3 separate regions of the Homo sapiens genome follow, and regions 1 and 3 are each linked to region 2. The links are contacts of gene promoters, found by promoter capture Hi-C in blood cells and fetal thymus (Javierre and others, 2016). All regions are on one chromosome and are shown on one strand. Each heading gives the region's core, a stretch centred on a gene start or on the middle of the fragment in contact. The rest is flanking DNA. Distances are from core to core; before and after follow the strand shown. Region 1 overlaps HIF1AN (hypoxia inducible factor 1 subunit alpha inhibitor). Region 2 holds the start of PDZD7 (PDZ domain containing 7). Region 3 overlaps HIF1AN (hypoxia inducible factor 1 subunit alpha inhibitor).

The links. The method cuts DNA at HindIII sites, captures the fragments that hold promoters and counts their contacts. A CHiCAGO score of 5 or more calls a contact.
Region 1: a fragment that was not itself captured here is called in contact with the fragment with the promoter of PDZD7 in region 2 in 2 of 17 cell types (total CD4 T cells and non-activated CD4 T cells); the score reaches 5.3 in total CD4 T cells.
Region 3: a fragment that was not itself captured here is called in contact with the fragment with the promoter of PDZD7 in region 2 in 1 of 17 cell types (fetal thymus); the score reaches 5.2 in fetal thymus.

The regions. Positions count from the first base shown.
Region 1 is chr10:100,539,345-100,542,111 of GRCh38, reverse strand. It overlaps HIF1AN (hypoxia inducible factor 1 subunit alpha inhibitor), which reads right to left. Exons shown (of 8, transcript NM_017902.3): 3 at 1,330-1,478. Among named protein-coding and RNA genes, the nearest start is that of HIF1AN, 4.8 kb to the right of the region's middle. The HindIII fragment of the contact is 8,099 bases long and covers 1-2,767 here.
Region 2 is chr10:101,029,679-101,032,378 of GRCh38, reverse strand. PDZD7 (PDZ domain containing 7) reads left to right here and starts at 1,250. Exons shown (of 17, transcript NM_001195263.2): 1 at 1,250-1,306; 2 at 1,995-2,385. The coding sequence starts at 2,160. It overlaps SFXN3 (sideroflexin 3), which reads right to left and starts at 1,145. Exons shown (of 12, transcript NM_030971.6): 1 at 845-1,145; 2 at 1-65. RefSeq lists an enhancer at 623-832. The HindIII fragment of the contact is 3,909 bases long and covers 1-1,462 here.
Region 3 is chr10:100,558,935-100,561,634 of GRCh38, reverse strand. It overlaps HIF1AN (hypoxia inducible factor 1 subunit alpha inhibitor), which reads right to left. Exons shown (of 8, transcript NM_017902.3): 8 at 1,637-2,700. Among named protein-coding and RNA genes, the nearest start is that of HIF1AN, 24 kb to the right of the region's middle. The HindIII fragment of the contact is 1,639 bases long and covers 623-2,261 here.

The DNA of each region.
Region 1 (2,767 bases), core at 140-2,639, 490 kb after region 2:
AACTACCATTTTTTAACCTTTATATACTTTTTTCTTTTGTCACCTTTTTCCTGCAGTATCTGATACCGTACTTTTACTATACCTTTTCTATATTTAGGTATGTTTAGATACACAAATACTTACCATTGTGTTAGAATTGACTATAATATTCAGCACAGTAATATGCTAACACCATGTAGTACATGGTTTAGTCAGAGGCTACACCATATAGCCTAGGCATATAGAAGGCTACACAATCTAGGTTTGTGTAACTATACTCTATGGTGTTTGCACAATGATGAAGTCACCTAACAACACATTTCTCAGAACGTATCCCTGACATTAAGCATCACATGTCTGTATTTCAGAGAGGTCCCTAATATCTCAGTATACACACTCACATAACAGCTGAGGAAGGGAAAAGGGAACTTTTTAGAATACACGAAACTAGCTTAAAGACTCGACATAAGCCGGGTATGGTGGCACACGCCTGTAGTGTCAGCTACTTGGGAGCTAAAGCAGGAGAATCACTTGAACACGGGAGGCGGAGGTTGCAGTGAGCCGAGACCACACAACTGCACTCCAGCCTAGGCAACAGAGTGAGACTCTGTCTCAAAAAAACAAAACAACAACAACAAAAAAAAACAGACTCGACATACATTATTTCATTTAATCTTCACAACTTCACAACTATTTACAAGACATTATCATGTTTCATTTCTTTTCATTTTTCCTTTTTTAAGCAATAGGATCTCACTCTGTTGCCCAGGCTGCAGTGCAGTGGTGCAATCATAGTTCACTGTAGCCTCAAACTTCTGGCTTCAAGCAATCCTCCTGCCTTGGCCTCCCAAAGTGCTGGGATTACAAATATGAGCTACCATGCCTGGCCCTATTATGTTTCTTTTTCTTTCTTTTGAGACAGAGTCTTGCTCTGTCGCCAGGCTGGAGTGCAGTGGCGTGATCTTGGCTCACTGCAACCTCCACCGCCTGGGTTCAAGCAATTCCCCTCTCTCAGCCTCCCGAGTAGCTGGGACTACAGGCACGCACCACCATGCCCAGCTGATTTGTTTTCTTTGTATTTTAGTAGAGACGGGGTTTCATGATGTTGGCCGGGATGGTCTCCATCTCCTGACCTCATCATCCACCCACCTTGGCCTCCCAAACTGCTGGGATTACAGGCGTGAGCCACGGCATCCAGCCCCTATTATGTTTCTTTTAGAGCTGAGTAGGCTGAGGCTTAAGAAAGTGAAGTGGCTTGTTCAAAGTCATGGAGCTAATAAGCGGTGAAGACAGGATTAGAAATCAGGTTCATATGACTCCAAGCCATGCTGCTTTTGAAAGATTTCTTACCTTCCATGCCAATGAGCAGCAGGTTAGAGGTAAGCTGCCCCCAGCCACGCTTTCCCTGTTGCTTATTAATCCAGTTCCAGTTAAAACCTAAGAAGTCCATGACAATCTTCCTGCCCACAGTGTCATTGAGCGTTTGCTGCAGATACAACCTATGTTCCCCAAGAAGAAAATCCTATTAGTGCATGCACACACAGCCCCTGGCATGGCCTCTCCACATCTGAAAATCCAAGCCCAAATCCATACCAGCATCTCCCACAGAGAACAGATGTAGTCAGGCAAATTTTAGCCAACATGGATTCTCATACAACTGAATTCTTACTTATCCTTCATTGAGTTATGTTCAACACCAAATTTTTTAATTTACTGGTTTTTCTTTGTTTTGTTTAAAGAAACAAGGTCTCAATATGTTGTCCAGGTTGGTCTTAAACTCTTGGGCTCAAGCAATCCTCCTGCTTCTGCCTCCCAAAGTGCTGGGATTACAGGTGTGAGACACTGCATCTGGCCCCCAAACTTTTTCTTTAAAGAAGTGATGCTTAACCTTTTTTGGGTCACAGAATGACTCCTTTAAGAATCCAAAGAGTAGGAGGGTGAGATGAAAAATAAAATTAAAAAAAAAAAAAAGAACCTGGAGAAGAAGTCCCAGCTACTCAGGAGGCTGAGGCAGGAGAATCACTTGAACCTGGGAGGCAGAGGTTGCAGTGAGCTGAGATCGTGCCATTGCACTCCAGCCTGGGTGACAAGAGCAAGACACCATCTCAAAAAATATAAATACATAAATAAATAAATAAAAGAATCCACGGAGGTTCCCCATAAAAATGCACATACACCCAGAACTTTCACACAATTTCAGACTCCTAGAAGCCTATCCACAGACCCTAGAATGATGAATCAGTCTCACTCCAGAGACTCGCAGAGCCTGAGACATCTCCGTTGGCCCTTGATGACCACTGTGGTAAATTGTATTACTGTTCACCAAGAGCTGGTTCCCTCAGTGTGCGAGTTTTCTTTCACATCCCCTTGAAGCCAGGCTTGCTTATTTACGCTGCTCTGGCCAAGGAAATGTCCACAGAAGCGACTTGTGTTGTTTCCAACTGTAATTTAAGAACAAGTTACCACTACCACATCTCTTTCCTTCTGCCACAGCAACTCCAAAGTTCTAGATAGTAGCTGCTGGGGCAATCTGGGTGCCAGAGCAAGTAAGATGATGTAAAGAACAATATGACATTACCCATGATCAACATGTAGTAAGTGAGAAATAAGCCTCTGTTGTTTCTAGCCCGAGCTCTGGCTTGAAGCCTAGTTTATCTTAACTGATTCAGCCACCTATCCTGTTGCAGCCTTCTACAGCTAAAGTAAGGAAGATAGCTTATTAGGTAAAGGCCTCAGGCTCCTAACATACCTGAGGAAGGTCATAAGTTACTTAAGAGATATGAAAACC
Region 2 (2,700 bases), core at 1-2,500:
ACCAGCAGGGAGGGGCAGGAGCTTCCCGGCCGCGCCCACCCGGTGGGCACGGGGATTGGCAGAACCTGAGGGCGGTGGGTGTCATTCGAGGCGATGCCCCCAGCCTGGGCCACCTGGACCAGGCCCTAAGCTGCTTCCCAGAGCCAATCCCACCTCGGGGATCAGTTCTGGCCCCCTCCCCAGCCAAAGGGAGGAGGGGCTGGAGCCGCGGGCGCTGCTCCCTTGGTTTACAGTCCCCTGGCGGGCCTCAGCAGACCCCCAGCCCTGCAGCAAGCGGTCTAGGTGCCCAGAGAGAAAGCCCCGGGCGCAGGTGGGCGGTGTGGAGGGGCGGTCCTCTGCTGGCGCGCCGGGAGGGACTCGGGTTACCGCCTGGCTTGTTTACTTGATGGCTGCCTTGGCAATGGCCTTTGGCTTGCTTGTCCCCCTGGGCTCCTACCCCAGTATCCACAAGCTCCTCTTGTAGCAGCGCGGCATTCGCATCACTTCACAGCCCCGTTCCTGTCGTGCCTGTGCCTCTTCTATGTCCCCAGCCCTCTCCCTGCTCCCCCTCTGTAACCCCTAGCTCCACTGTGTCCCTGGTCTCCTTACGCTCCCAACCCCTAGCCCTGCACCCCAGACCGTAGCCCCACCCCTGAGATGTGGAGGGGCAGACGACCCCAGGAACCTCGCGGTCTGCATCCGAGCAAGTGCATCAGAAGGATTCTTAGGATTCTTCCGGTCCTGGGACCAGCTGCCCCACCCTGCGACCATTCCAGAACTGGGTAGCCAGAGACGCCTTCTGACAGAGGAGGAGGATGCAAGTGAAGAAGGCACCCCCTCCGCCACGCACATACTCACAACTCACCCAGCCACCACACAGAGCACGCCTGCAGCAAACTCAGGCTCACGTCCCGCTCTGCCCCGTGACGTCCCTCCACGGAGGCCTCAAGGGTGCCCAGGGAGGGGTGGCAATTCCAGGAGCCCCGGTAGCTGGCTCGGCTCAGAGAAGAGGTGGTTCGAGCCGGAGGGGAACAAGCCAGACCCAAGCCCTAAATTTGCGGAATGAGCTAGGGCGTCAGAACCAGAACTGGGGTGGGTAAAGAACTCCGCTGCCCGGGACCAGGTAACGCTCGGCTGTCCCTGGCGCCTAAGGGAGGTGCCGGAATAGAATGACTGGCGGCCCTACCAGCCAATGGGAGCCCGGGGCGGTGCAGGCCAGCCCAATTCCCGCAGCCTCCGCGCAGCGTGGGTGGGGTTTGCCGGCTGCGGCAGTAGCTCTCGCCTGCGGGTGGTTTGACAAGGCTGGCGGCGCCACACCAGCGACCAGGTGAGGCCGACCAGGCACAAAGGGGTGGGGGGCCTGGAGGGCCGAGTTGATGTTGGGGTGCTTCATTCTAGGTCCCAGAGCTTCTCTGAGGGAACTGGCCCTGGGTTTTGCGCGGGATGTCGTGGGACCCCTCTCCAGCAGATCCTCCCCAAAGCTTGGGAGAGGTTCATGCAGCCTCTTTAGACCCGGAGCCGCAGCCTGGAGCCCGCGGGTGTCTGGGGGTCTTCCTGGGCCTCAGCTGTCTAAGGTCCTGAAGCCCTATCCTCGAGGCCCAGCCCGCCCCACGCAGCCCCCGCCCCACCCCGGGCCACCTCCATGCCCGCATATGCATGAGAGAGGTGATGCCATGAGCTGTCCTGACCTCTCTTTTGTCTCACACCTCTCTAAGCCCCAGGGCCCGCAGTAATCCCAACTCCACTCTCAACCTCTACTGAGGACTGGGGACGGGAGTAGATGACTCAGCCCCGAGCAGGAATGAGGGGTGAAAGGTTCCCACCTGCCTTGTATAAAGTCAGCGAGAGTCCAAGATGGTGCCTGGACGGGGCAGTTCTCTGGCCTAGGGTGAGACAGGAGGGGGGCCTAAGGCATGGGAGGGCAGGATGCTTAAACCAGGGGGAGGGGTGGAAGTTTTAGGGGGCAGCAGGGGAAACATTTACACCCCTCCCTCATCCCTGCTCTCCCTGCCCAGGCCTGGAGCTCACACTTCTGAGAGGCATCGCAAGCGAGGGCCTTCACGTTACTGAGACCCCAGCCCCGCACAGAGGCTCATGGAGCTCGAAGCACGCAGGGCTGGCCTCTCCAGAGCTAGCAGATTCCTTCTGGACCTGTAGGGTGCCGCCCTAGCCCAGCCGCCATGGCGCAGGGTTTCGCAGTGGGCTTCGACCCACTGGGCCTAGGAGACCTGAGCTCCGGCTCTCTGAGCTCCCTCTCCTCCCGAGGCCACCTAGGCAGCGACTCAGGCTCCACCGCAACGCGATACCTGCTAAGGAAGCAACAACGGCTGCTGAACGGGCCCCCCCGCGGAATCCGAGCCTCATCGCCCATGGGACGCGTCATCCTCATCAACTCCCCCATCGAAGGTAGGGGCGGGACCCAGCCACTGGCCTGGGTTGGGGAGGGTGGGGGTAGGGGACAATGGGAACTCAGCAGGAGGAGGCAGAGCCAGTATGATTGGGGGAATTCAAGAGATGGGAGTCACAGGGAGGTGGCAGGCCGCCTGGGAACCCATACACTCTTCCTCACCTGCCCTTGGCCTCTCCTCCAGGCCAATCCTGCAGGGGTCCAGGGTCGTAGAAGGGTCAGAGGAGGGAAAGAAGGCCATGGCAGCAGGGACAGGCATGCGTGTGGTATGCTAGCCCCTGGTGGACAAGGCAGGGGATTGAACTGGCCTCTCT
Region 3 (2,700 bases), core at 193-2,692, 470 kb after region 2:
GTAACACCTCCCTTGATCTGGCTGCTCCGTTTGGTTAATGCAATTCATGGCTGTGTTAGGATTTTAGCAGTCACATCACACAGTTGACTCATATTGAGCTTGCAGTCAACTAAACCCCCCAGGTCTTTTCTTCATGAACTGCTGTCAAGCTGGGCCAACCCCTACAACCGGTACTTATGTCATTGATTTTGTTTTAACCTAAGTGCAGGACTCTACATTTATCCCTGTTAAGTTTAATCTTGTTGGTTCCAGCCCAGTGTTCCAGCCTGTTGAAATCGTTTTGAATCCTGACTCTTTCATGCAAAGTATTAACTGCCCCTCCTAGCTCTATCACCTGCAAACTTGATGAGCCTGCTGCTTCGGTCAGTTGTCAATAAAAATGTCAGAGAGGACACAGGCCCAGACTGAGCCCTAAGGCATACTGCTGGAGACTTCCCTCTAGTCTAGGCTGACATGGATCCATTAATCAACCCTCACTGGGTCTGACTGTTCACCAAGCTTCCTAGCCATTTGGTTCAGATGCTTCTGCCACAACTAGATAACATGAGAGGCTTTGTCAGAAATTTGTCAGAGGCTTTGCTGGAAATTTCTCTTGCCCAGGCTGTGGCCCCCACATCAAGCTTAGGCCTTCTTTCTACCCTCCACACCCCACCATCATTTGTTTACTCATAACTTTAGGGGATTATATTTCCAATGGTGCCCCCTCCTGCATGACTTAATATTTCTGAGCTTCAGGATCACCTTGGGTGTGCCTTTGCTATTTCATATCCCATCATCCTATGCCTCCTCTGAGACCTCATTCTCTTAAATTCTCTGTCCTGCCACCTTCTCTGCCTATAAATGTGCAGTGGCCTCCCTTGCCTAAAAAGCTCTCTACTAGCTGCCCCCTTAAACTGTGGTTGGCTTCTGCCTCTGTCCTTCTTTTGAAAATCCAAACACTTCCAAACTCACCTTTCATGTCTCCTAAGCCTTTAGCAATCTGGGCTGCCAATCTCTCAGCTGAGCAACCATATTGCCCAAGCAGTGGACAGTGATGGTGGAGATAGAAGCAGAAGATTCACAACCACATCACAAAGATCAGATATGGTGGCTGCATAAAGCAGAGAGCCCAGGACCCCTCACAGACCAAAGTCAGGCTGCGGTCAAACTAGGCAGGTGACCAGAATGTTCAAAAGGACTGAGACATGAGGTCAGAGCCTAGGCAAAGTGCCTGGTCACAGACAAGAGCAGTGAACACTGAGAAGCCTGAGCCTGGGGACTTCTTACACAGTTGCTATAGGGGTTGGAATCAGTCCTGGAGCCAGGTCAGCTGGGAAGACAGCCTGGCTGGAGGGGGGAATGATGTGAACAGAGAGAGGTAGGGCCTACACTTTTCCTGAGCCCTTATTCTAGGCTGCCCAGCATCAGTTGTTAGCAACTCCAGAGTGCCTCAAGTTCAGGGCCATACCCTCAAATATCTATGTGGGCCAGACAGGTCACGTGAGTGAGATCTAGGGTACAACAGTGAAGAGTGGAGATTGACAAACTGAAAGGAACACAGCCAAGGGGGCAGTTGCTCTTCAGCTCCAGCCAACTGCTGTCACATGGGAAAGGCGATTTCATTACTGCCAGATCTGATTTTCCAAAGAGAGAAATCTTTTTAGGTCAAGTTTCTGATCTTTAATGTTGTCAATTTTTTAAAACTTTCAAAAACTTGTATTGGCCAAACAAAACCATGTCTGTGGCCGACTGGACTAGCGGTGGCCATCTTTTAACGGCTGCTAGTTACGTGGTACTTGTAGAGGCTAAGTGACTTGGGTGTGTGGTAATATTACATTTAGAACCCACTCTCTGAGTTTCTTAATGTCAATGAGAGTGACTTTGGGTTATATAGAAACAATTTATATTCATAAATTACTTTGGTTAAAAAATATATTCAAGGCCAGGCACAGTGGCTTATGCCTGTAATCCCAGAACTTTGGGAGGCTGAGGCAGGACTGCTTGAGCCCAGGTGTTCGAGATCCGCCTGGGCAATGAAGTGAGGCCCCTGTCTCTACAAAAAATAAAAAATTAGCCAGGTGTGGTGGCATGTGCCTGTGATCCCAGCTACATGGGAGGCTGAGGCAGGAGGATCACTTGAGTCCAGGAGGTTGAGGCTGCAGTGAGCCATGCTTGCCCCACTGCACTCCAGCCTGCGTCGAAAAGCAATGCCCTGTCTCAGAAAAGAGCAAACTATTCACCTCTTCAAAGTTACATATCCAAAATCCTCTCTTTTCTAAGCTTTTAAGTTCTGCTAACAAATCTTATTATTTTGCTTATAAAACAAAAAAGTTTAATGTTTGATCCAACTTACATTTAACTAAACTCCTTTAAACACTTAAATGGCATTTATATGATTAATGTATTTGATTTCCTTAAGTACTTAATTTATCTGACCAAGACAAAACCTGATCAAGTACTTATATTTCCAATAAATTAAGTTTATAAATACAGGAAATCTTAAGTTGTTCTAAATGTTCTAAAACTACAGAAAGACTTAGCAATGATTGTACCACTGTACTCCAGCCTGGGCAACAGAGTGAGACTCCGTCTCAAAAAAAAAAAAAAGAAACTTAGCAAAATTTCAACTTAAAATTCGAGTATAAATACACACTTTTTAGTTGGCATTACAAAGCAAACCTGTTACTCTCACAAATGCTCTTCCATATGTCAAGGACTTAA